Linked DNA regions of Homo sapiens: regions 2, 3 and 4 are each linked to region 1. The links are contacts of gene promoters, found by promoter capture Hi-C in blood cells and fetal thymus (Javierre and others, 2016). All regions are on one chromosome and are shown on one strand. Each heading gives the region's core, a stretch centred on a gene start or on the middle of the fragment in contact. The rest is flanking DNA. Distances are from core to core; before and after follow the strand shown. Region 1 holds the start of REDIC1 (regulator of DNA class I crossover intermediates 1). Region 2 has its middle 19 kb from the start of KIF21A. Region 3 overlaps KIF21A (kinesin family member 21A). Region 4 overlaps KIF21A (kinesin family member 21A).

What was found. Contacts are between HindIII fragments. The CHiCAGO score rates a contact against its expected background, and 5 or more counts as called.
Region 2: a fragment that was not itself captured here is called in contact with the fragment with the promoter of REDIC1 in region 1 in 2 of 17 cell types (naive CD8 T cells and activated CD4 T cells); the score reaches 5.4 in naive CD8 T cells.
Region 3: a fragment that was not itself captured here is called in contact with the fragment with the promoter of REDIC1 in region 1 in 3 of 17 cell types (non-activated CD4 T cells, total CD8 T cells and naive CD8 T cells); the score reaches 8.0 in non-activated CD4 T cells.
Region 4: a fragment that was not itself captured here is called in contact with the fragment with the promoter of REDIC1 in region 1 in 2 of 17 cell types (naive CD4 T cells and total CD4 T cells); the score reaches 6.0 in naive CD4 T cells.

The regions. Positions count from the first base shown.
Region 1 is chr12:39,622,238-39,629,963 of GRCh38, reverse strand. REDIC1 (regulator of DNA class I crossover intermediates 1) reads right to left here and starts at 3,781. Exons shown (of 13, transcript NM_001031748.4): 1 at 3,605-3,781. The coding sequence starts at 3,627. The HindIII fragment of the contact is 5,259 bases long and covers 2,019-7,277 here.
Region 2 is chr12:39,458,547-39,465,532 of GRCh38, reverse strand. No RefSeq gene overlaps it. Among named protein-coding and RNA genes, the nearest start is that of KIF21A, 19 kb to the right of the region's middle. The HindIII fragment of the contact is 200 bases long and covers 2,244-2,443 here.
Region 3 is chr12:39,427,427-39,434,226 of GRCh38, reverse strand. All of the region lies in intron 1 of KIF21A (kinesin family member 21A), which reads left to right. Among named protein-coding and RNA genes, the nearest start is that of KIF21A, 12 kb to the left of the region's middle. The HindIII fragment of the contact is 7,012 bases long and covers 996-6,800 here.
Region 4 is chr12:39,402,555-39,409,272 of GRCh38, reverse strand. The region is part of intron 1 of KIF21A (kinesin family member 21A); the gene reads left to right. Among named protein-coding and RNA genes, the nearest start is that of KIF21A, 37 kb to the left of the region's middle. RefSeq lists an enhancer at 5,957-6,006. The HindIII fragment of the contact is 443 bases long and covers 3,235-3,677 here.

The sequences.
Region 1 (7,726 bases), core at 2,532-5,031:
GATTGATATTTTAATTTTGTCAAAAAAGGATTAAAAATAGAAGGGGGCATTTTAGTATCAAAAAATTTAACAAGGATATAACTTCAGAAAAAAAGAAAAAAGTCCATTAAATTGAAAAACCTGCTATTATCATTGATTAGCAAGTCTCAAAGAGACAGTAGTTTGGGAACTACTATCATATACATGTAAATTAATTTCTTAGATCAATCTCTTTGCCCTCAGTGAGACCCTGGTTTGAAATGCACTGTTATGATATCTTGCAAAGATGGCCAAAACCAAAACAGTAAAGCCAAACTAAGTAAGCAACTAAAAAAGGAAAATAAGGGAAGCTTATTTCTAATCACTGGCTCTTTCCTTTACAAAAAGACATTTTATATATGACTGGTAAAGTCCCTAAATTGAAGAGCAGCAAAGGGTCAAATGCCCAGTTTGGTTTATATAAGAAAAGCTGTAAAGATCTTTGCAACTATAAAACTGTAAAGATATTGCTATCAAATGATTCTGCAATTAAACTCACTATATCAGGTTTCTATAATATACAAGAACAATCTACTTCAAATTAGTGTATGCAATCTGGTTGCTATTACTAAAACATAAATTTGCTTCATTCATTCACTTGAGAAAAAGTATATAGAGAGCCCTTTATTAACTGTTTAAGTGTCTTAATGCAGACTCACCTAGTATCGCAAACTAACATTTTTCAAGTTCCTTAATACCTTCCCTTCCAACTCATCTTTCTCTTTCCTAAGAAGCCTTGCTGAAACCTAGATCTCCAATTTGATCAATTATTTATTTCACCTCCATTTTAACTTTTAAGAACCAGTGTTCGATTGTTTCCCTTTGGTGCTTGCTCTGTGCACTATTTCTGTCCTTCAAGGCTTAGTGTAACTTCCTGTTTCTCATTTCTCTGAATTTCCACAGCCCTTTTTTGTGGTACTTTTATTTACTTTATTTGTGGCACTCATCTTTCTATACAGCATAGGATGGAGGGCAAGCACACTCAACTCAAATCCTAACTCTGCCATTTACTAGCTGGGTGCCTCTAGTCAAGTCACTTAACATTAATGAACTATGCTTCAGTTTCCCCATCAGTAAAATGGGAATAATATTTGTATATAAATCATAGCATTTTCAAGAGCAAATGAATAAGCACTTAGAACAGTGCTTGTGACAATATTAAGTCCTATTTAAATATCTATTATTATAGTGATTTGCCTAATTTTAATCTCTACTTTCTCTCCTAGGTTCTTTTTGTGGACTAGATGTATTTTTCTTTTCTGAATCCCCCTGTACAGCTTACCAATTCCCTAAACAGGTAGTCAGGTAAAAAATATATTTGCTGAATTACTTTCTGTTGAAGGCTCTGGAATTGTTCTGAAGGAATTGTTCTCCAATCACTTCACTTGTCTATATTTTAAGTTCCTAACAGTTCTTCTTAAAATGTTCAGCCAAAAACATCCCTAACAATGGAGGGGGGTAAAAAGAACTCCAGCATGGTTTGGGATAAAGATTAAAATTTCTATTCTATTAGCTCCATCAGCTGCCACTAGTTACTAAAAGCACTAGTTCAGACTGAGGCCCTTTAGGACACTATGAGTGCCAAGATCAACTAATCTTGTGTACCCTTGCCTGTTCTGAAAATAGAAAATGGAGACACCCATTTTTTTTTATTACCAATCTGGGGCTTTACCCTAAGAAGCCTATCCCGCCACATAAAATTTATTTAAAATTGCAGTGTATCTGAACATTTCACAAGAGTTTTTCATTTCACTCTACAATGCAACCATGTTTGTGTGAAAGTTGATCACACAAATTGAGTCATTCTTGTGATGTCCAACCACATCAGAGTTGAGATGTCAGGAGGCAAAAGCACACAGGGCACATAGCATTGCTCCAAAAACATGATTCTCTGCAAGCCAAGCTTCTGAAACTGCCTAGGACCAGTTATACCAAATAACTACTAAAATGACCTTCCAGGAGGTCATTTTAACTACCACCATCACCCACCAGTCAAAGCTTGCCAGCTTCTCACAACTTCACTACTGTCAATGAACTTTCTTTCAAAACCATATGTAACATTTCTCTTTTTTTGTAAAATCCCCACCCTTTTCTTTGTTCTTCAGACATACCAAAGACATACTTTGTGTATGCCCTGAATTGCAATTCTGCCATTTCCAAATAAAACGTTAAATTTAGAGATTTGTCTCTACATTTTATTTTGACTTCGACGTTTGTATAAATTTAAACACATATTTTCTCCTAATCTCTGATTAAAACTGATCCTTCGGGGAGATGTAACCATGTTTCTTAAACCCCCTGGTACCTAATATCTCCAGATGCTGCACCTCCAGGTGCTGCAGTACACCTCATTTTCAGAAACACAATCCTAGGTTACATGTTTCCTGCAGTATATTGTTTTTGCATCCTCCCAGTAGCAACTAAAATATTACTCCCAAAATAGCCATAAAAGTTTGTGATATATGACAGAATAATAGCAACATCTACATTTTAATAGTGCTAAGCATTTGTAAAATTATTTCATATAATCCTATTTAATATTTTAAAGAATACTAAATTCAAAAAGATCACATTATAAGCATGTATCAACTAAATCCTGTTGAAGCCTGTAAGTAAATTTTCACTTTTCTCCAGAGTACGTCTGCTGCCAGAACACTAGCCAGAAGTAATTCAGGTAAATTTCTAAAATACAATGCTAGCATATTCAACAGGATAAAAGTGCATGCTAAAATTATCAGGCATAGCTACAATACTTAGTGAATACAAAAGCTGTCTTTCCTCCGATAAATTCTTTAGAATTCAAACGCATTATAATCTAACATATAATTACTGTCCTGGGTCTACTTGTGACAAAAAAATTACATGTAATGGCTTCTTGTTTCAATCAAAACAATTCTTCTCATCAAGAATTTTGATCAAATGAAATTACAGGCCCACATGATTTCCACCCAGCTGGACTTTAAGGTCAATAACAATGAATAGGTTATATAACACTAAATTTTCAATCTATCACGCTTTATGTGATCAATCCTAAATACAAAATAAATGGCAAATTCGCTCAAGTTATTCAAGTAAAAACGGTTCACTTTACTTCCCCTTAAAATACAAACTACAATTTGGATTTATGGTGATACTGGTGCCCTGCCATTGATTTAAGTGCAGCTGGGACTGGGCTGTTTCACAATTTCCAAATTCATGCAAAGACTATATATCAACTCAGAAGAACCTAAAAGAGGTGTAGACACGGAAAGAAGGCAGTAGGGGAGGGCTCAGGTGCTAAAAGGCCTCATTACAGTAACAGAGCATAGGACATGGAGAAGGGGAGGAGGGGCAGCAGGGAAGGTTACTCACAGTGGCCCCCACAGGTGAAGCCTTTGTAAAGGCAGTGAGTGGGGAGAAGCTGAGTTACTTTTGTCTGAGGAGTAGAGATATGGTTCTAGAGTCTCCAACCCGATTTGGATAACAATAAAAAGACCCTTTCCTACCAAGTTCTTTCCAGCTAAGGCTGTGACCTCTCCGCCAGGAACTAGAAAGAGGAGTCGTAGGAATGAATGTCCCAGCCTCAAACTCCAGCTGCACAACTTACCGGGACCCCCCGACCCAATTCATCTTCCCAAATCTTTTGACACTGAGGTCCCTGTGTCTAGAGCTCAGACATCTCAGCTCTGCGCCAAATCGCAGCTTCAGCAGGATCCCCCAGGGCCTCCTGACAACGTCAGGGCCCGAGTAAGCTCCTTCTGGTCCACCGCCTGAGGCCCAACCTCCCAACAGCCTCTGCGGCTTCTGCGTGTTCCTTCCGGTCCTGATAGGGCCGCAAGGGGACGCTGCGGCAAAGCAGCCGACCTGGCTGACATCGTTTTAATCGCTGAGGCAAGGCAGGCCTAAATAAATGAAAGCCTAAATTTTTGACAGGGGCCACAGGATTAGTGTTTCAAAACACCTCCATCATAATTTTATCTAGTTCTGACAGGTCTTTGACGTCTTTTTCGAGTCAGAGACCAGACTTGAGAAAGAAAAAGAAGGCAAGGACACAGTTAAGGATCGCTAACCCTAAAAATGATGTTTCCCTTCCCATTTATTACCCCATACCCAAATTCCTTAAATATCCTTCATGTGCAGTTTTAATACTCCGTAAACAGGTGTTTATAAGAAACATAGCGCTGTAGTAAGTTACCATTCTGTGCATTGAGTTGCTAAGAGAGCTTAAATCAGGCCGGGCGCAGTGGCTCACGCCTATAATCCCAGCACTTTGGGAGGCCAAGGTGGGCAGATCACGAGGTCAGCAGATCAAGACCATCCTGGCTAACACGGTGAAACTCCGTTTCTACTAAAAATACAAAAAATTAGTGGGACGTGGTGGGACGCGCCTGTAGCCCCAGTTATTCAGGAGGCTGAGGCAGGAGAATTGCTTCAACCCAGGAGGGCAGAGGTTGCAGTGAGTCGAGAGACTCCAGCCTGGGCGACAGAGCAGACTCTGTCTCTTAAAAAAAAAAAAAAAAAGAAAGAAAGGAAAAAAAAGAGCTTGATCAAAACTTAATTAGATGTAAAAGTCCAAAGATGTTAAAATCCTTACTGAAAAAAAAATCTCAAAACAAAAATTGAATTATGCTATTTGTTTCTGTATTAAGTTTGTATATCCTTACAAAACAATTATCTTACAAACTGTCCTATATTATTTTGGTTAGAAACTAGGCATCTCTTCTTCCAAATACATGCACAAATTACATTTTTTTAAATTGCCATGTTTTTTTCCAGAACATAACCTGGGGAAGATTTCACAATTTGATATATAATAATCGATTTTTTGTTAAGTCATTGGAAAATAGTACTTAGAATAGGATTATGTCCCAGGGTAGATATCTTGTTTAATCACAAAAATCCTGTTTTTTATGACAAAATTCACCAAGGTGTATCTAAAATTGAATTAGACCAAGTGAATTCAGCATTTCCGAGAATATCAGACTTTGACATGGAGTTGTTTTTTCAGTAACAAAACCATACAGGCAAGGAAGAAGCAATGGCCCTGTGTATCAGCCTTTCCTACTTTCAACATTTTAAAACATATTGACTAAATTAACTGAAAGGGGAAATAATTTGCTAAGGGATTAACTCTTTTTTTCTTTATTGTGAGTAAAGGGACATAAGGAGAGGTTGACCAAGTTGTTGGGTAAAGAACTAAGAGCTGGCACTCCATTTGTGGGAGCCAAAAATTAAAACAATTGAACTAACGGAGATAGAGACTAGAGTGATGGTTACCAGAGGCTGGCAGTGGGGGATGGGGAAGTGGGAATGGTTAATGGGTAGAAAAATATATTTAGATAGAATGAATAACATCTAGTTTTGATAGCACAACAGGATGATTACAGTTAACATTTATTATACATTTTAAACTAACCAAAAGAGAATAATTGGAATGTTTATAACACAAAGAAATAATAAATGCCTGAAGTGATGGATACTTCATTTACCTTGAAAGATTATTATACATCTTATGCCTGTATCAAAATATTTCATGTACCCCATAAACATATTCACCTACTATATACCCATTAAAATTAAAAAGAAAAATACATAAAAATTTTAATAAGAACTGAGAGCTGGATGGGCCATCTCTTCCCCCTTACTAGAGTCACTTCTTTCCTTCCAGTCACAGGGAGGCAGTGAATTAGGCTAAGGAAAGATTAACCTATGAGATACATGTTCAGACAAGATATTTACTGGGTTTTCCTTCACAGAAAAAGACATTTCCTTATGAACTAGGTATTAGGTAGTTATGTGTAATAGCTGAAATGTTGACCTAAAATCTCATTTTCAGTGCTGTTTATGCCTCCATGAGTAAGACTAGCATGACTGATAGATAATAAGAGAGTCCAATGCTGTGCTATTTTAGGGCCAGTAGAGCAATTAGGTAATCTCTTGGGTCAGGAAACAGTTCAAGAAAGCAATACAGCACAGATGAAATACTATTAAGCATTTGTTGAAAAGGAAATCCATTCGAAATTCTCAAACCTTAAACAATTTATCTTTACCTATTTCTAAAAATTATTTACTTTCTGGATATTCATAATCTGAACATGCAACACATATACAATATACATTATACATACATTTATGTATATACATATATATAATTCTCTTTATTACAAAAAAATTTCTGATGTTTTACAGTTCATAAAACATATATAGTCTCTAATTTGTATTCTATATATATAAACTCCATTTAATTCATTTCTTTCATGGATATTGGTAGGGTACATGAGAATATCACACTTGAGAGCACAGTGATTTGAGAATTATTGATTTTAAAAATTATTCTCATTGTTTCTCAAGATCTTTTCTAAGAAGATTTCTCCCCTCTTAAGAAAATTTTAATAATCTCCCATATAAACACACTTGAAGTTGAGACGTTTGTGTGGAAATTAGGCCTAAGTATGTTTTTTACTACAGTAACAAAGATTTTTTTCTCCTCTTTCCTAGTTTGGAATTCAAACTAAATTAACAGTCTCTTAGCTTTAATTGCATACTGTCAATAGAAAAAAACTGAAAGAAGGCCGGGCGCGGTGGCTCACGCCTGTGATCCCAGCACTTTGGGAGGCCGACGGGGGTGGATCACCTGAGGTCAGGAGTTCGAGACCAGCCTGACCAACGTAGCAAAACCTCATCTCTACTAAAAATACAAAAATTAGCTGGGCGTGGTGGTGGGCACCTGCAGTCCCAGCTACTTGAGAGACTGAGGCAGGAGAATCACTTGAACCTGGGAGGCAGAGGTGGCAGTGAGCCTAGATTGTGCCATTGCACTCCAGCCTGGGCAACAGAGTGAGGCTCCATCCCCCTCAAAAAAAGAAAGAAAGAAAGAAAAGAAAAAGAAAAAACTGAAAGAAGTACCTTGACATTCTTAGTTTTTTACTTAAATGCCATATATTATTGACCTAATTGTCCATATGGCTTCCTGTCTTCTTGAATCCTTCCTCTGCCTTATCTGAAGGCTTGTGTCTAGTCTCAGACACTAGGACCAACTCTTACCCTTGAGAGCAGGGAGAGGTGAATGGTGGGAGTGAAATTTAAGTGGTTAGAGTTAGGTCTTCACCTAAGTGGCTCAATATCAAATCAAATTTCACGTTGACATTTTCCACACTTCAAGTAACTCACTTTCAACCTTCCTTGTACCACGATTCAGGTAACAAAATTTCTGTCTTGATCATTTTCCTCATAAATAATTCTTCATTCTCACAAGTCTCTCACTCCAGATGCTGAAAGCTTGTTCCTGCACTATAACCTCATTATCAGTTGGTAAACTGACCTACCTCCAGCTAAGTCCTATTTGAATCTCTAGTGTCCTTTGCTTCTAGAGTTCTCACTGCCATGCTCCTCCCCTAATATGGCTGTCTCTGGTTGTATGTATTGCAAACCACTTGCCTCGACTGCCAGCTGCTGTCTGCATCCTTCTGTGTACCATGTTCTGCCTAACAACATCCTGCCATCACCCCCAGTTAGGTTTACTCTGGCCTTTAACCTGTCCTGTCACTGCTAACCCTTTTGTGTGTAGCTGTTAGGAGATGTGACATAAATGAAAGGCAACCTTATCTTGCATACAACAAAAGCAAGAGCTTAGGAATAAAAGATTTTGGCAATAACTTCCATGACCACTATTATCTGTACATACAGGCTTAAAAAGTCTTAATGGGATGATGGATTATGCTACTAATAT
Region 2 (6,986 bases), core at 1,094-3,593, 160 kb after region 1:
ACTAAATTACTGCCTGATGTTCTGAACTGTGCTCACTCTTCTCTCTGACTTCTCTTTGCAGCCAATAATAGCAGAAGCTCTTAACTTCATGCCAGATACTGTATGTGCTAACCATTTTATTTACACTAATTTGATTTTGAGGATAATCCTTCCTGGTAGGTAGTGTGATTTCTAGTTTATGAAACTGAAGAAGCCAGGATTATGAATTAGGTCTTATTGGACACCAAAAGCCTTCTGCTTTCAAGGACTTTGCTGTATGTGTTTTGTTCGCACTGAACCCCCACAGCATCTCTACTATTTTGTAAATGTTAAGCTCTTGCCTGTGTGCATGTTGTGTAACCACAAGGAAATGGTAAACTTGGAAGGGGAAGCACTATGAGTCCTATTTCTTTGTCATCTGCCACTCCCAGTGCCTGCTGAATTCTTAGCTTAGTATTTCGTCCTGAAAATGCTGATGACCAACTCCAAAACTGATTTTTTAATTTTTTTAAATTACAGGCTCATCAAATTAAGAAAGACTGGCTGGGCGCAGTGGCTTACGCCTGTAATCCCAGCACTTTGGGAGGCTGAGGTGGGCAGATGACTTGAGGTCAGGAGTTCAAGAGCAGCCTGGCCAACATGGTGAAATCCCATTTCTACTAAAAATGCAACAAAACAAAACAAATTAGCTGGGCATGGCAGTGCAGGCCTGTAATCCTAGCTACTCTGGAGGCTAAGGCAGGAGAATCACTTGAACCAGGGAGGCAGAGGTTGCAGTGAGCCGAGATCACACCACTGCACTCCAGCCTCCATAACAGAGCAAGACTTTGTCTCAAAAAAAAAAAAAAAAAGAAAATTCAGAAAGACTACTAGCTTTCCACTGAAATATTTTTATTCAGTAAATTCAAAAACTCAAGCACCAGTGCTTTCTTAAAGTACAAAAATTCAGTAAGATCAGAGAATGTCTTAAAGTGTTTTTGATTTGCAAAGTGTTTCTAATATATAATCTCTTTTAATTTTCACAATGCAACCATATAGAATTTTCATTTTAAAATGAAAATTATTATGCAAATATCTAAGTAACAAACCTGTACTTGTACTCACTAAATCTATAAAAATAAATACCATAAAAATTCTGAAACTCAGAGAAGTGAAGTGACTTGTTTGCACTTGGCAGTAATTAGGTGGATTCATACTCCAACCTAAGTCCTCTGATTCCAGAGAGCAGAACTGTCAATTCTCAAGAATTGACAGTTCATGTGTCTGAGTGTGTATTTATTTAAAAGTTTTTATTACAGCGAAATTATCATCCAGAAAGGTTGCTACCAGTTGATACACAATGTAATGAAATGGTTAGAGCATTGACTCTAGAGCCACTTATTAGCTGTGAGACCTCAGTATAAGTTACTAAGCCATATTGTGCCTCAGTTCAACTGTAAAATGTGGATGACAATATAGCACCTAATCATAGGGTTACTGTGAGGATTAAATGAGTTAATATATTTAAAATATGGATGACAATATAGCACCTAATCATAGGGTTACTGTGAGGATTAAATGAGTTAATATATGGAAAACACTAAGAAGTGTCAAACGTTGCCAACATTTGTGATTCTATCAGAAAGCCATTATTAGTAACAATCTAAAGGATCAAAAATGCCATTGACTTTTTGCCTTATTTTGCATTTTCCTAATTACTACTAAGGTGAGCACCATTTTGTGTTGTTGTTGTTTGGTATGATCTCTTCTGTGAATGGTCAGTCCATATCTTTTGCTCATTCTGTAAAATTTTTTGGTCTCTTCATTTTGATTTGTAGGAGATTTATAACATATTCTGGGACTGGGCGTGGTAGTTCACATCTGTAATCCCAGTACTCTGGGAGGCCAAGGTGAGAGCATCGCTTGAGCCCAGGAATTCAAGACAAGCCTGAGCAATATAGGGAGACTCCTTCTCTACAGAAAATTTAAATATTGGCTGGATGTGTGGTCCTAGTTACTGGAGGCTGAGGTTGGAGGATCCCTTGAGCCGGTGAGGTGGATACTGCAGTGAGCCATGATTGCACCACTGCACTCCAGACTGGACTACAGAGTGAGAGTCTGTCTCAAAAACAAAACAAAACAAAACAAAACAAAACATATTTTGGATATGAATCCTTTGTAATACATATATAGCAATCTTTTGCTTTGTCACTTATTTTTAACTTTGTTCAAGTTGTCTTTTTTTGTAGCAGTTTAAAACTTTTATGTACTCAACTTGTCAAGCTTTTCTTTTATAAAACTTTTGATTTGTATCATATATTTTGTAGTTACTTCTAATACTTACATAGTTTTGGTTTTTATATATGGGTATTTTATACCTTAAAAATTAATTTTTGTGTATGGAGGGAGGGATCTCCCTCTTTCCCTCCCAAATGAGTAGGCATCATCACATGAATAATTTGGAGTTTGATAATCTGTTCAAGCTTTAGCACTTGCAGTCCTCACCCCTCAAACCTGCTCTCTGGTTTCCCCTCTGACCTCTTTCTAAAAGATAGGGATATTTTAATATCCTGATGATATTTTCTATCATCAGAGAGGGAGAGTGAGGGAGAATGAGAGGGAGTGAGAGAGAGAGAGAGAGCTGGTCTTCCTTCCTTTTTTTTATAAGGGCACTAATCTCATTATGAAGGCCACGTACTCATGACCTCATCTAACGCTAATTATCTCCCAAGGGTCCCATCTTGAAATATTATCATATTGGGGGTCAGGGCATTAACATATGAATTTGGGGGTGGGGGACACAAATATTCAGTCCCTAAATTCCATCCTTGGTCCCCCAAAATACATGTCTTTCTTCCATGCAAAATACATTCATTCCATCCCAATAGCCTCAAAAGATTTAACTAATTCCAGCATCTACTCTAAAGTTCAAAGTCTCATCTAAATATCATCTAAATAAAATATGGGTGAAACTGGACTTATGATATATAGTGAGGCAAAATTCATCTCCAGCTGTGAACTTGTAAAATCAAAAAAGTTATATGCTTTCAAAATACCCTGGTAGAACAGGCATAAGATAAACATTTCCATTCAAAAACGGTCATTTCAGAAGAAAGAAAGGAGTGACAGGTCCCAAGCAAATCCAAGTCCTGGTAAGGCAAATTTCATTAGATCTTAAGGCTTGAGGATAATCCTCTTTTGCTTGATGTTCTGCTCTCTGGATACACTGTGGTGGCTGCATTGCTCCTTTGTTCCAGGTCAGGGTCCCACCCCAACAGCTTCAGGCAGAGGCTGTTTGGCTGGTTAAAACTAAGGTAGTGGCCTTGATCACCCTCTTAATCACCTTCAGGGTCATTGTTGCCTCTTGATGAATAGTGCATGTTCTCAGCCAAATGGCACTATCATCCCATCCTATCAAATCCAAGAGGTCTAAAAGCCTTCCTTTATTTCATCCCATCTCAATCCCCTTCAGCTCAAACTTGCAATGTTTCTCTTTGTATAATTCCATAAACTCTTTAACAAGTGACAGTCTAGCAACACCTCTGGTGTGCTTTTCAGAATATGCTTTCTTATTTTTGCAATATGGGCAGCTGAGAACTTCTTAAATCTTCAAGTTTTGGGTTTTTTTGTGTGTAACAATTCCTTCTTTAATTCCTCTCTCTCTATTCACGTTTTACTATAAGCAGTCAGGAAGAACTAAGCCACTCGTTCAACACTTTGCTTATATATCTCCTTAGCTAAATACCTAGTTTCATTGCAAGCAAGTTCTGCCTTCCACAAAACACTAGTACACAATTTAGTCAAGTGTTTGTCACTTTATAACAAGGATTGCCTTTCCTCTAGTTCTGATAACAGGTTATTCACTTCCATCTGAGACCACACAAGAATCACTAATGCCCATATTTCTAATATGTGCCTCAAAACTCTTCCAGCCTCTACCCAGTACGCAGTTCCAAAGCCACTTGCACAAATATGTTTAGATATTTGTTACAGTAGTACCCTACTTTTTGGTAACTAAATCTGTTTTAGTCTGCTTGGGCTGCCATAGCAAATACCTTAGATTGGGTGTTTTAAACAATGGAAATTTGTTTCTCATAATTCTGGAGGCTGGAAAATGCAAGATCAAAGTGCTGGCCTATTCATTTCCTGGTGAGGGCTTGCTTTCTGCCTTGCAAATGGCCACCTTCTCACTGTGTCCTTACATACCTTTTTGTGCATGTGTAGGGAGACAGAGACAGAGAGAGGGAGAGCAAGCTCTCTAGTGTCCCTTTTTACAAAGGCACTAATCCCATCATGAGGGCCTCACCCTCATGACCTCATCTAACCCTAATTATCTCCCAAGGACCCTGTCCCTTCATACTATCACACTGGGTATTAGGACTTCAACGTATTAATTGGGGAGGTGGAGGAGACACAAACATTTACTCAGTTACTATTACAGGGCATCAGGTCACATGTTGCTCATGCCTTTCCAACTCAGACAGCCTTAGGACTGGTCTGAGTTTCAAAGGAGAGAACAAAGGTCTTCTTGACCCTTCAAAGCAACATTGTACAGTCTGGAGAATTTGTCATCATCTGCCACCTTGAAGTTAAGCCTATGAGAAAGCAAAAGCTTTCTCATAATGTACCTGGTGTAGGCAGTAGCACTTTGTGGATTTGGGAATACCAGTAACTTGGCTCTACTTTCCAGCAAGAATGGCAAATAGTGTAGTACCCACTGTGGCTGGGAGAGTAAGGAACATTGTAACCATTCTTCTTCATGGTTACCAAGTGGATTTCCCTCTCAAAGTCCATCTCCTTCAGCGTCTGATGCATGCCACATTCTGGAGATAGCACCAGAGACCTCACGTACAGGGCCTGGGCACTGCCATCCGGGCCTTGGCCTCTATCTCAGGCTTAGAGTCCCAGGTGGGAGGTGGGAGGCCCCAGCCTGTCAAGACATGACATTTTAAAGCACTCCACCCACCCACCAGTAAAAACAAAACAAAATAATTTGGTGTTTAGATTAATTAGGAAATTAAAATAATTAGAGAATATCATTATTGATGCATGATGTTGCCAAATAAAAACATCAAATATGCATTAATGAGGGGTATAAGAAGCTGTGACAAGCAATAAAAAATAATAATGCATCATGGTTCACATGTTTGCATACTCTTCTATGTAAACCCATAGAATTTTATTTATATTTAAATTTAGAATTTTATTTATATTATGTTATTTATATTTAGACTTTTTCTGAGTCTAATATCTCACTCCAGAATATGACAGATATTTGGTATGGTGAAACTTTCCTTTTTTTTTTGTATGTTACTCTGAACTGCTTCACAGGTTTAAAATAAGCAGGAACAAAATAAAACCTATGGGCACATCTACATACCCTGGATGAGCAGTAAAACGTGCTGCCACTTAATTGATAAAACTGTATTCCAAGAGCAGCTAGTGTTTCCTTAACTAATATTCATGTTAGTTAATGTTTGGGCTTGAAGATGTTGCCATTTATTCATCCTTTTGTTCAGTAAACAGTTATGGAGCATCCTCTTTGTGCTGCTGCTTTATGGTAAACACTGGACACCAAGTAGAAAACAGGATGCGGAATCCATACTTTGCTAGAGGTTATAGTCAAGTGAGTGGAGTTTACTGCCAAGTAGGACAGAAAAAAATAATACATTGAGGAGACATGAATTTAATAAAGAACAAGAATTATGAAAGTGATCCAAGTGGGGGTAAGTTTAAACAGGAGGCTCAAACTGTTATGAGGATAGGGAAATTGTGAAAATAGCATGGAAATTTCAGGTATGGAGGTGGCAAATACAGTGTCTTAGAAGCATAGGTAGCAAACTATACTTTCTTTTTTTTTTTCTTTTTTTTTTTTTAGAGATGGGGTTTCACCATGTTAGTCAGGCTGGTCTCAAACTTCTGACCTTGTGATCCACCCACCTCGGCCTCCCAAAGTGCTGGGATTACAGGTGTGAGCCACTGCGCCCAGCCTTGCAAACTATACTTTCATTTCAATTTCGAAACTACACTATTCTATGGATTCCTTATCAAGTTAGTAGGAGTAGTAAGGAATGGATATTTGCGGAAGTGTTTTAGAGAAATGCATGTATATATAGCAATGACACCATTATAGTAGGTAATCAAGCAGACACGAGCAAGGCAGGAGAGAGCACCACCCGCCCCACCAGGAATGTCAGGTGACCATCAGCTGATGGTCAGGTGGTGGTTAAACTGCCTCTAAAATAATAATTGTTTGCAGCCAGCAACAGGGAAAGGCAGTCTCCCAACAGACAGAAACAACTGAAACTGGTAATCCACAGCTTCCCGATAAGATCTCAGGAGCTGGGTGAGTGACCTCATGCATAAACACTAAGAGGCAAAATGGCAGAGTTTAACTGGCATATGACCTTATAGGAACACTCAACTGGTAAGGGAAAAACGCCTCAATGAGCATGTGCACAACGTCAGTAAGCACACTGCGCACGTGGCCCCTCCCAAGAGTTGGCAGCCCACTGCACATGTGGACAGCCACTCCAAAAAAAGAATTAGGGAGAAGAGATGAGGGAAGACCCCAGAAGAATACCAATGTATAAAACCCCAAGTCAATGGTCAAACTATTCACATGAATCTCTCAAGTCACTGGTTTGGCCCTCTTCCAAGTGTACTTTATTTTTATTCCTGCTCTGAAACTTTTATTTTTTTTTTGTATTTTAGTAGAAACAAGGTTTCACCGTGTTGCCCAGGCTGATCTTCAACTCCTGAACTCAGGCAATCCACCCACCCTGGCCTCCCAAAGTGCTAGGATTACAGGCGTGAGCCACCGCACCTGGCCCTGCTCTGAAACTTTTTAATAAACTTTCACTCCTGCTCTAAAACTTGCTTTGGTTTCTCACTCTGCCTTATACCCCTCGGTTGAATTCTTTCTTCCAAGGAGACAAGAATTGAGGTCGCTGCAGACTCGTGGATTTTTCACTACTAACAACACTACTAGTATTTTTTTTTTTTTGAGACAGAGTCTCGCTCTGTCA
Region 3 (6,800 bases), core at 3,252-5,751, 200 kb after region 1:
GCATGCTCTCTTTCCTTCTGCCTTCCGCCTTAGGATGAGGCAGCAAGAAAGACCGTGCCAGATGCAGGCCTGCAGGCCTCTTGACCTTGGAGTTCCCAGCCTCTAGAACTGTAAGAAATACATCTCTGTTCATTATAAATAACCCAGTCTGTGGTATTTTGTTATAGCACCACAAAATGGACTAGGACACCAACGATGGGCATGTTGATTATATTCCAAACTCTAGCAATTGGATTAGTTATTCTTTGATGTACAACCTATAACTTGAATTTGTAAAGTGCTTTAAAGATGTCTGTATCTGGTATCTGTTCTTTTGCTTTTTGAGTATCTCTTACTTACACCACTATAAGTGATATAACAGTATATATAAATACTTCCAAGATCCTTATTCTATCTAGTCTCCCCGTTTTCTTTTGCTTTCAATATATAAATTACATGCCATACTGCTCTACTCTATCAAATTCATCCTTTTATAGTTTATTAGAATTCACTATTTTTATTCTTTCTTTTTCCACAAAGCCTTTTAATTAGTACAGTTCTTCGTGTTTGTAAAGTTACTAGCATATACTTTGTGAGATTAACAGTAGTTTTGAGTTATACTTTTTACTAGTTGCTCAACCTAATGTAAGAGAATGGTAACTAAAGTGGATAGTAAAAATGTGAATTTTCCTTCTGAATTAGGTTGCACCAGATTTTTGGAAATATTGCTAATGCTTTCCTTTTGCTTCCTTTCATCAACCTTGGCAAGAAGTATTACACTAGGCTGTGGATTAAAGAGCACTGTAAGGGGTAAACTGAGTAAAAGGAGCAGAAGTAATAATATAAAAATTTTAATTATACATTAACTTTTTTGATAAATTTTTTTTTTTCTGGGACCTGGAGCTACTGGGGCAATGTGCCTGCAATACTCATTAATAGAACTTATATAAAGACTTGCCTGAAGGCATTTTAGAACAAGACTGATATTTAGAACCAGAAAGTATATCTTGTAAGCTTGTCTGAAAGTATATCTTGTAAGCCTGTCTAATGATCTCAAAATCAGTTTATAATTCCATAAGAAAGTTATTTTTATTCAGTTTTTTCCTATTATTGAAATAGGTTAATCACATTAGAAAAATTATCAGGAAAAGATAAGAAAAACAATCAATCATAATTCCCTAATACAATTACTACTAGCATTTTGCTATATTTCTTTTTAGTCTGTTTTAATATGTGTACCTACAGTTTTTTGAAATTGTTGTAATCAGTGTGTTGATACCCTTTAGTAGCTTGATATTTACCCCTCTAACACATAGCATAAGAATTTGTCCATCTTGGTCGTCGTGTGGTGGCTCACGCCTGTAATCCCAGCACTTTGGGAGGCTGAGGTGGGCAGATCACTTGAGGTCAGAAGTCTGAGACCAGCCCGGCCAGCATGGTGAAACCCTATCTCTACTGAAAATACAAAAATCAGCTGAGCATAGCAGCAGGCACCTGTAATCCCAGCTACTTGGGAGGCTGGCGGAAGAGAATCACTTGAACTCGGGAGGCCGAGGTTGCAGTGAGCTGAGATCATACCACTGCACTCCAGCCTGCGTGATAGAGCCAGGCTCTGTTAAAAAAAAAAAAAGAATTTGTCCATCTTTATATTAAGGAAGGGCATTTTGAGTAACATGCTAAATATTATACACCATCTGCTTTATTTCAATAACTCAGTACAATATGCATTAAATTCAATATATCAGTGATTTAATTGACATGACTTTATTGTTTAGTAAGGGCATTAATTTCATTTTTATAGGAACTATGCTGTCTCCTTTGATTCTTTATAATGTTTCATTTCTACTGATGAACACTGACTTTACCAAAGAGTGTTTATTGGAATTGATGAGAGTGAATAGTGCTGCTCACCCAGAATATATGGGTAAGCATTATGGTACTGAGGATGTTTTCCAGAAAAAGATATATTGATATTTAATTTTAACTTTTCACCTATATCTATGTAAAGACACAATGTATTAGGATGAAGTAGATATTTCCCAGCACATTATTCCAAGCCAGTGATGGTAAATCAAACACAAGACCATAACTAGTTCATGTTTCTTGAAAATAAGTGAGTTTCTAAGGTGTTTATTTTGCTTGCTTTCACCTCAGTTCAACACAAAACACTTCTCTTTGAGTAGCGTGTTGGTCTGTTAGTCTTCACCTGTCCTGTCCTAAAGTGGAGGTTGGCAACTGCTAATTAAACATGAGATTGCAGATTTCATTCCTGGTTATTTGACCTGCCATTTGAAGTTCCTTAATTCCAGTGTGACATCTGTGACATTTTCAAGTGTCAATTTAGGCAATACAATATGAGGCTTTTGAATTTTAGTTTGCTAACTTGCCCTTAGATTGACAACAGATTCCATCTGTCCTTGATAATATTCTTATCTATTTTGTTACATGAGAGGAATTGGATCTTCTGTTGCCTCTGTAGCAGATTGGGTTTTGGTTTCTTTAGTTAGCTTTGGCTCTAAATTTTTTATTAACTTTATATAACCTAATCATAATTTTTCACAAGTGTGTGTTCTATAACGTCAGGCTGCCTTTGAATTCCTGTCTTGCTTAACTTTTTTCAGATGACGTTCTTCATGCCCCAAGTGGACAAACTCAGCCTTTCCTGAGTTTCTGGGTCAGTCCTCAATAAAGCCACAAGTAAATCACAGCAGTAGTTTTGTTCCACCAACCCATTAGTGTGAAATTTTTTGGCTGCTACTCCAGACTTATTATTAATTATTCCTGTGCTTTTAGGATCATAGCCTTCCCTTTAACCTCCTATTTTACTTGTCCAAACTTGGCTTTTGTCTTGGTTTCCTGATTTAGATCTCTTTCCCCGTGTCTTGAATCCAAACCCACTTGACAAAGTGAAATTATTGAAAGCCCCCTCTCTGTGGAGAGGGAAACTTGTCCCCTTTTGTCCCAACTGGGGTCTCCTTCAACTCATGTGGGCTGCACAGAACTGGCAGCTGCCACCAGAGTTATTCCACTTGTATACATAGGCTGGCACTGATCTGTTCTAGGTCATCTCTGGACATTACTTCACTTCCATGCCATCCAGTTTAGTTGTCCAGCTTTCTACTTTACCCCATTCAACCTGGAGGCCCTAGGATGTTTTGAGACTAAAATCACATGGGATCTAGAAGCTGTGATTTCCATGTGTGTCTCAGTCCATTTTCTGTTGCTATAACAGAATACCAACAGGGACGACTTATACAGAAAATAAATTTATTTAGCTCCTGGTTCTGGGTGCTGACATCTGATGAGGGCTTTCTGGCAGCATAGTACCATGGTGAAGGACATCACATGGCAAGAGGGAGGGTGTGTGTCTGCTCAAGTCTTCTTCTTCTTACAAAGCCACTAGTTTCATCATGGGGGCCTTCCTCTATGACCTTATCTAATCCTTATTATCTCCCAAAGGCCCTACCCTCAAACAACATAATGAATTTGGGGATTAAGTTTCTAATACATGAAATTTGGGGACACATTCAAATCATAGCAGTATGGGATTGACATGAAACACACACACCAAAACATAAAATCCACTAAGGAGTTGAATGAATCTGCCCAATATGGTATAAAATATATTAATGTTCACAAAAAAATAAATTGATATGTTTCTTTCTTTCTTTTTTTTTTTTTGAGACGAAGTCTTGCTCTTGTCCCCCAGGCTGGAGTGCAATGGCGCCATCTTGGCTCACTGCAACCTCTGACTCCCAGGTCCAAGTGATTCTCCTGCCTCAGTCTCCCGAATAGCTGGGATTACAGGTGCCTGCCACCAAGCCCGGCTAATTTTTATATTTTTAGTAGAGACAGGGTTTCACTATGTTGGCCAGGCTGGTTTTGAACTCTTGACCTCAGGTGATCCGCCCACCTCGGCCTCCCAAAGTGTTGGCATGACAGGTGTGAGCCACCACACCTGACCCTTAATTTTATTTTCTTTTGCAGCATGACTTATGGAAAAAAGCATGGACTTTATTTATTTACGTTTTTATTTTTTTAAGGTTGTTTTTTTTTTTTCCAGGGTCTTAGGGTTTTGCTATGTTGACCAGGCTGGTCTGAAACTCCTGAGCTCAAGAGATCCTCCTCCCTCAGTTTCCCAAAGTGCTGGGATTGTAAGCATGAGCCACCGTGCCCAGCCAAGCATGGACTTTAGAATCACAAATATTTGAGTTCAGAATTTCGGATGGCCACTTAACTTTTATGAGCCTTAGTTTTCTCATGTATAAAATAGGGTTAATCCCTTAATCCCTATCTCACAGGGTTGTTAAGATTGTTAGAATGTTCTTTAGAATTGTTTGTGAGATGTTAGATTCTTTTTTCTTTTTTAGTTTTATCCCTCCTCTTCTTTTTTCTCCTCCTTCTATCTGCTGTTTTCCTCTTTCCCTCTCCATCTACCTGAAACTCTATTTTTCCTCTTCTAGGTAATATCTAATAACTAACCATAATTTCTTTCAAAATCACCTTAAGATAGGGTTAATTTCTTTGGTGAGTTCCTGTTTATAAAACCACACTTTCATCTTGGTTGGTTTCTTTATCCGTGAAGTGGAGGTAATAAGAGTACTAACATAATAGGATCGTTATGAGAATTAATTGACATAAAGCACTCAGAATAATGTCTGGCACATAGTAATCCTGAAATGTTAGTTGGGACTAACTTGCAAAAATCTATTTCTTTAACAGAGATTCTTTCTAGTCTTCACTTGGGCCCCCTTTTTACAATTTATTATGTCTGTCTTCAATGATGAAGAAAAGGGATGATAATAGTGCATTTATATTTGATAATATGTGACCTTGATATTACCAGTCAAAGCTATTAGCATTGTATTTATATGATAGAATGGATATCTTGAATTATCTTTAATGAATATGTTGAGTTGTGAAAGTTAAGACTGAGATGATTAAACCCCCTAGAGCAGTTTGAATAAAATGTTTTCTTAATCTTTGTTCTCTGTTGGTATGTGTGTTAATGGAAATTCATTCCTTTTCTGTTTATCTTTGACATGGGGGATACTTATTTATTTCTAGTTGGTTAGCAGGCAAGGTGAGCTCTTTGGCATATTAATCCTTAAACCTCTTAAATATATTGCTTAATATGTCATTAATCTGAGCACACCTCTACTTATACCAACAAGGTTTTTACTAAGACCCCATAATTGATCACACACACACATACTTTATATTTAAACTATAAGTGAACATCTCATTTCCATGTGTCATGTCTAATTTGAAGTCCTTTTTTTTTTTTTTTTGAGACGGAGTCTCTCTCTGTCACCAGGCTGGAGTGCAGTGACAACATCCCGGCTCACTGCAACCTCTGACTCCCCGGTTCAAGTGATTCTCCTGCCTCAGCCTCCCGAGTAGCTAGGATTACAGGCATACGCCACCACGTCCAGCTAATTTTTGTATTTTTAGTAGAGCCAGGGTTTCACCATGTTGGCCAGGATGGTTTCGATCTCCTGACCTCATGATCCGCCCACCTCGGCCTCCCAAAGTGCTGGGATTACAGGTGTGAGCCACGGTAATTTGAAGTCATTTTTAAAGATTGACTGAAGTGACAGTTCCTTTGCTAACTTAGCAAAGACATTTGATTAATTTTACTTTTCCTCTTTGTAGTTATGAGACAAGTCACATTGCATATTATAAAAATTTTAATTACCATGGTTAAATAAGAAAAATCAATTAACAATTATTTGTGACTCTGTTTTTTCTAAGGATCTTACTCAATAATTGGGTCTTGATTGTTGACACAATAATAGCCACTGAAACCTTTGACTAGATAACTAGTTTTGTTTGGGTTGAAAAACAAGTTTCTGAGAGATAAGGTATCAACAAATGAGGTCTGAAACTTAAATGATCCTGAAAACAACCTTCACTTTTTAAGACAAACCTTTTTAGAAAGCAAACTTGATTGAATTGTTAAAACAAATACCTTTTGAGTCCTTCACAAAAGTTGGTTTACTGTGAAATGAAATACTGTCAGATGGACCTAGAATATTTGTGGTAGACAGTTAAGTGGACTATTGAGGATGACTAAGAAAGCCCTATTTGCTGTCTTTGACAAGGAAGAATCATCCACATATAAGCTATTAGGATAATGAACACAATAGTAGGACTAGACTAAGAATGAACATTCTTCAAAATCATCCCTACCCATACTGCACAGCAGAGGCTTATATATTTGAATTGTTTTCTGTGCCTTGTGATGAGAACCATGTTCTCTGTTTACCTTTAGAAAGAAAAAGATGTGGCTGGGCGCGGGTGGCTCATGCTTGTAATCTCAGCACTTTGGGAGGCTGAGGCAGCTGGATCATCTGAGGTCAGGAGCTTGAGATCAGCCTGGCCAACATGGTGAAACCCCATCTCTATTAACAATACAAAAATTAGCTGGGTGTGGTGGCAGGCACCTGTAATCTCAGCTACTCAGGAGGCTGAGACAGGAGAATTGCTTGAACCCAGGAAGTGGAGGTTGCAGTGAGCCCAGGCTGTGCCACTGCACTCCAGACTGGGCAACAGAGAGAGACCGTCTCAAACAAACAAACAAAAAAGATGCAATAGCAGTCATCTTTGTGGTTTGTGGTTTTCTTTTCTTTTGGACTATCAAATATGTTTATTTGCACATTGCATAATTTTCTTTTTACTATTGAATATTTTAAAATGAACTTTGATGATGAAAAGTAATGCTGTTGGACTTTGAGTTCAAATCCCTTCTGTTTCACTGACTTCCTTTGAGGTAGTAGCGGTGTAAAAGTAACCCTGTGAAAAATAACGTTACCCCTCTC
Region 4 (6,718 bases), core at 2,207-4,706, 220 kb after region 1:
GCTGGGATTACAGATGTGAACCACCAAACCTGGCTCTTTCTTATTTGCTTAAGGTTCATTGATTCTTACATCTCTAAGCTTGTCTTTCGTTAGTTTTGGAAAATTATTGGCCATTGTACTTTCAAATACTGCTTTTTGGCTGGGTGTGGTGATTCATGCCTGTAATCCCAACACTTTCAGAGGCCAAGGCAGGAGGATTGCTTGAGACCAGGAGTTAGAGACCAGCCTGGGCAACATAGGGAGACCCTTAAAACAACAACAACAAAAAAATAAAAAATAAAAAAGATTAGCTGGGCGTGGTGGCACGCACCTGTGGTCCCAGCTACTCAATAAGTTGAGGTGGGAGGATCACTTGAGCCCAGAAGGTTGAGGCTGCAGTGAGCCATGATCATGCCACTGTACTCCAGCCTGAGTGACAGAGTGGGACCCTGTCTCCAAAAAAAAAACAAAAAAAAACCAACAAAAGCCCCCACAACTATTGCTTCTGCCACATTCTCTTGTTCTGGGACTCTAATTATACATGTGTTATGTGTTGAGAGCATCCCACTTCTCCCTTATGCTCTGTTCTCTTCTTCTTTCTCTCTGTGCTTCATATTGGATATTTTCTATTGATCTGTTTTTGAGCTAACCAAACACATCTTCTTTGTCCAAGCTGCTATTAAACCTATTCAATGAGTTCCTGATTTCAGATACTTTATTTTTTTAGTTTGAGAATATGCATTTAACTATTTTTATAGGTTCAAATTTTCTCTTGAAATTCTGTATTTCTTTATCAGGGGTTCCTCAATCCCTGGACCACAGACTGGTAACAGTCTGTGGCCTGCTAGGAACTGTTACCAGTCTGTGGCCTGCTAGGAACCAGGCACACAGCAGGAAGTGAGCAGCAGTTGAGCCAGCATTGCCCCCTGAGTTTTGCCTCCTGTCAGATCAGTGGTGGCATTAAATTATCATAGGAGTATGAACCTTATTGCGAACTGCACATGTGAGGGATCTAGGTTGTGTGCTTCTTGAGAATCTAATGCCTGACGATCTGAGGTGGAACAGTTTTATCCCAAAACCATCATCCCCCTCCACCCAACCCCCCGACCATCCCTGGAAAAACTGTCTTCCACGAAACCAGTCCTTGGTGCCAAAAGGTCAGGGACTGCTGTTTTAATAAACTTTTTATATTTTTTTCTTCTCCATTCTTTAATGTATTTGTAAGTTTTTTAAAAATCCTCATTAGCTAACTACAGCATCTTGATCATCTGGAGATTTTTTTTCCATTATCTGTTTTTTTCTCTTGACTATTTGTCACGTTTTCTTTTCTCTATTCATATGCCTTGATTTTATGCTACTTATTTTATGCTAAATATATTTAGCATATATTTATATGCTAAATATATTTAGCTACTGATTTTATGCTAAATATAATATGTAAAAGGCCAATTGAGAGAGATTTTTGTTTGTTTTTTGGAATGGGCATGGGTTAAGAGAGATTGAGAGTCATTGTGAATAGGAACATGAGGATAGCACCTTGTTGCTTGTGAAGAAATTGAGTAGGGGAATATTTGTTAAAATGATAATGGGATTTTCTCTAGGACTTTCTAAGAGATTGAGCAAGCTGTATGATCTTGAGCAAGTTACCTAACCTCTAGAAGCCTTGGTTTTATCTTCTGTAAAATGAGATAATTATAGTATTTATCTCACAGAGTTACTGGAGGGAATAAATGAATATTTCTGGCAGCATAGTAAGGGTTTGATATATTACTCATTGAAGATTGAGAATAGACTATTGGATTTGGTTATATGATAAGTTGTTAATGTCTTTGACAGTGGGTTTTCAGGGATGAGTAGAGACAAAGGCCTGAGTAAAGGAGGTACAGGAGAGAATGAGGAATTCAAAACAGCAAGAATAAGCCATTGTTTTGAGATTGTCAAAAAGGATATTAGAGAAATCTGGTAGCCAGAGAGGGACATGAAGTTCAAGGATAAGTTTGAAACATTGTAATGATTGTAATTACAATAAACTTCACGGTAATTTTATGTAGTAGTACTGTTTTGACCCCCACTGTAAAAATGAGAAATCTCTAGCATAAAGAGAGGAATGCAATTCTAAAATGTTTGTGTGCTGAGAATGATCTACTGGGAAGGGAAGAATCGACAATGCAGGAGCTGGAAGGAATAATTCTAGGAGCAAAATTTCAAATAAGTGGGAAATCATGGAATGCAGTCCACAAGTGGAGAGAGTGACCTTTAACAGGAGCAGGGAGTGTGCATTCATTTTAACAATATTGAAAGCAAAGTATATGGGTAGATTTTGGAGTGGGAAGATGAAGTTTTATTCTGATAGCTTGTATTTGCTCACTGAAGTAAGAAACAAGGGAATGAGCTGAGCATGAGTTTGGAGGTATTATAGAAGAAGCAGTGAATTAGTTATTTTGGAGAGTGGGTTGATTTGAGATTACGAATGAGTCTTTTGATAGTGCTGAGGGCCCATTTAAGTTTGTGGTCATACACGTAAAGTGGAGATTGTGGCAGTAGGAGAGAAAAGGGAGGCAGGAAGCTTGACATCTTTGAGAAAGAACAAAAGATGAATTAACATGGTGAAGCCAAGAAAGGAAGAAAACAGTCCTTCCCTTGAAAAGCTTAAAGTATACCTGCCAAGTTAGATGATACACAGGGAAAAGGATACATAAGTAAGCAAATGATAAATGCCAAATGACCTAGAACACAGGCTTTGTTCCTTCACAGGAGGGAGTGAACATTTTGGGTGACATGGATGGCTTTAGTGGGAGGTAAGCATTGATTGGACATTAAAGTATGTGCAGATGCCAAAAGAATAGAGAATCATTTGCCAACTCCCTGGTTCCAGTACTGTGCTTTCTTTTATTTGGAGCCTTTGAATTTCCTGTCTGTTGATTCTACTTCTTTTGGCATTGGGCAGATAGAGACATTGATGCATCCCTTTCTGTCTGAAGATAATACAATGTTATAGTTACCCACAAAGGAGGTATAATCACACTGTAATGACCTTGAGATGTTTTCACTTTTACATAATGTATCAAATATGTTGCTTGAAAATTTGTTAAAACTTGAAAGTATTATTTTGTGTTTGTTTGGCTTTTTTTTTTGGAGGAAGTGGGGTGCTGTTAGAGAATAGAATAATTTTTTTTGTTTGTTTGTTTTCAGGCTCTGTTCTGTTACTTCAAATTTTAGTTGAAATTTACAGATGTGTTTTGAATGTTCTAAGCTTTCTTTGACTTGAACATGAAGGGTGGGAAGAAAGGAAATCTGCAAAGACACGCTTTACATATAAGCTAAAGGGGAAATTTTCTTCTACACAAAATAAAATGTTAGTCACACATATAATGATGGGTTTGTAACTGTCTTGTTACTATTTTGTCCACTACTGAGTGACTTTATTATTTTTCTTATTGCATATTTTTTTTTCTTACGGCCTAGTTAAGAATGATCAACTTCGTGTTTTTAGTCATTTCAGTGAACAGGCAGTCTTCTGTTTCAAACAGAGAAATGTCTGTTGGTAAGAAACTTGCAACAATAATGTAGGGCTTTTTTTAGTGGTTTGTTTTGGAACTTTATATACGCTTTTTAAAAGCAGCTGCAAGGAAAAGTGTGTGTAGGTTTTTGTTTCTTAAATGTTAATGTAAGGGATATTTAAAGAACTATATGAAGCTTTTTAACAGTGCTTTATTTGACTTTTACTAGTTAAATATTTCCTGCACTGTAGTTTTACTGTAAGATGGCAACAATTTTACATAAACAAAATTTTTCTTACAAATACTTTTTTTAATGTTGCAATTATTTTGGCAAAGATACATTTTTGAAAAATAAATTGCATTTATTTTTCTAGTTAATCTCTTACTTTAAAAATAGCATTTAATATTAAATTTAAAAAATAAATTCTCTCTTTTGTTTTTTTGATGGAGTTTTGCTCTTGTCGTCCAGGCTGGAGTGTAATGGCACAGTCTTGGCTCACTGCTACCTCTGCCTCCCGGGTCCAAGAGATTCTCCTGCCTCAGCCTCCCAAGTAGCTGGGATTACAGGCGCCTGCCACCATGCCCAGCTAATTTTTGTATTTTTAGTAGAGACTGGGTTTCACCATGTTGGCCAGGCTGCTCTTGAACTCCTGACCTCAGGTGATCCATCTGCCTTAGCCTCCCAAAGTGCTAGGATTATATGCATGAGCCAGTGCCTGGCCTTCAAGTATATTTTTACCACATGAATAGCTTTAAATTCTCCATTATACACTTTAATGGCTATTCTACTATATATTTTTTTAGTTTGAAAAAAAAAGCCTTAGGAAAATTTACTTTCCATAGACAGAATTTGTTTAACATTGCGCATTTGAAATTTGTATTAGTTCAGCAAGGAATATATACTATTTGGAATATTATTGATACTGCTGAAATAGTATGAAGGTATCACTAATTTTATATTTAATTTGCCAAGACAAAGAACTCTTAAAATTCCATTATTTTCTTGATATAGTATTTATATAAAATTCTGTTTTGGAACATGTTAGAAGTCTCATTTACTATTAAGTTGTAGAAAGCATATTTGCATTGATTATGATTATGTGTTTTTACATTGCTACCTATATAATGAAACAGGATGGTAGTATTACATTGCAAGTAGATGGCATTTATGCTAAATAGCATTATCTCAAGGGAAAAGAGGATTTTTATATTTAATGTCCCCAAATTCTTACTGTATATTTCTCAACTGCTTGTGGCTGTGTTTTTTAGTTATGAAAAAGAGTAACAACTCAGATTATCTTAAGCACTACTTACAGTAGTGAAATGAATACCCCAAATATGTTACCCTTTCTTATTAAAAAATATTTTGAGAGGAGCTGGAAAATGCAGTAATTATTCCACATTATTTTTATTTCTAATCAAGTTACCATTATTTTCTCATCTTATTTGTTAATAAGGTCAGTTGGAAAAGGTAGTCTTTCACCATATGTCAGTGGCTCCTACATTTTAGTGTGTCTAAGAATCTCCTGGACCTAGGCATGGCAACGCATGCCTCTTACCTCAGCTACTTGGGAGGCTGAGTCAGGACCATTGCTTGAGTCTGGGAGGCAGCAGTGCACTTGGAGGTAGTAGAGTAGCATGATTGTGTCTGTGGATAGCCACTGCACTCTAGCCTGGGCAACATAGTGAGACCCTGTCTATAAAATGAATGAATAAAAATAAAAAAGAATCTCCTGGGTGCTTGATAAATATGTGGATTTCTAAACCCACTAGAAATTCAGAATTACCAGTCTATGTGATTAACAAGCTCCCAGGTGATTAAGATGCATTTGGTCCTTTGAGAAACTTTTGACAGGTAGCAGTTCTTTAACATTTAATTCAGTTCTCATTCATATTAACTCAACATTAATTTCAACATTAACTTAATTTTCATTAAGTCTTCAACAGTCTTAAAGAAGTAAGACTTTGCTACTAAGCTGAGATTGTTTCACTTAAAAACTTACATGAAAGTATTCTAGATATTTTAATAGCTTTGAAAGTTAAAATAATGAGTTCTCATGTTTTAGATTATAATAACATGTTTGTGTAGAGTTCTACAGTTTAATAGTCACTATTACATCTATTGCCATTTTATCTTCATAAAAAGCCTGTAAGGTAGGTAAAACAGGTATTATTACTTTCATTTCATGTACTGGGAAACAGGCTAATGAAAGTTAAGTAACCTGCCCTAGGTCATGTAGCTAATAAACAGCTGAGATTCACTAGAACATAAGTCTTGACTCCTAGACTCATGCTCTTTCCATATCAAACCATATTAAGTTATCTAAAATTGAAGCACTGAAAAAGTGTGTGTACATTTTTAAATATGTAGGTGTATATGTATCACACTCACATGTATATACAAATGTATCATCAGAAATGATTAAACTTTTTCTAATTAAAAACTTAGTATGCTGATTAGATTTTGGCATTTTTAGACAGTAAACATGCTTTGTCTTACAAACTGTAGACTGTGAGTTCCATAAGGGCATGTACTGTGTATTGCATATCTTGGTATTCTCATTGCCTAGCCTAGTGTTTTGCATAGAGCCCCCAGGTGTTCAAGGGTTTGATGAATGAACAAATGGGTAAATGAATGACTGTTAGGTTTTTTTTTGTCAAGGGGTGTTTGAAGGTTTTTGATGTGTATTTTTGTCTCAAAGTGGGAAAGGTTCATTACTGAGCTCTTGACTTTTAAGTGGGGATGACACACATTCTTGAATTATGAGTACATGTAGTGCCAGTTCTCACAAGCAGATGCCAAACACTGCTTCATGAACCAGCACAACAATCATATGATGGTAGTAGTTTCTTCTCTTGCAATGTGTTATGACATATTTTACAGTTTTTAGTTATATACAGGTAATTTTTTTTTAACTAAATATAATGCAAGGGTGTCCAGTCTTTTGGCTTCCCTGGGTCACATTGGAAGAAGAAGAATTGTCTTGGGCCACACATAAAATACGCTAACACTAATGATAGTTGATGAGCTAAAACCAAAATTGCCAAAAAAACTAATAATGTTTTAAGAAAGTTTATGAATTTGTGTTGGGCCACATGCAAAGTCATCCTGGGCCGCATGCAGCCTACAGGCTGCAGGTTGGACAAGTTTGATATAATGTATGTTACTGGGTAAAATTAAATTCTAAGTAGAGGAGAAAGGGGCTCCTCTTATTTTATTATTTAAAAATTATTTATTT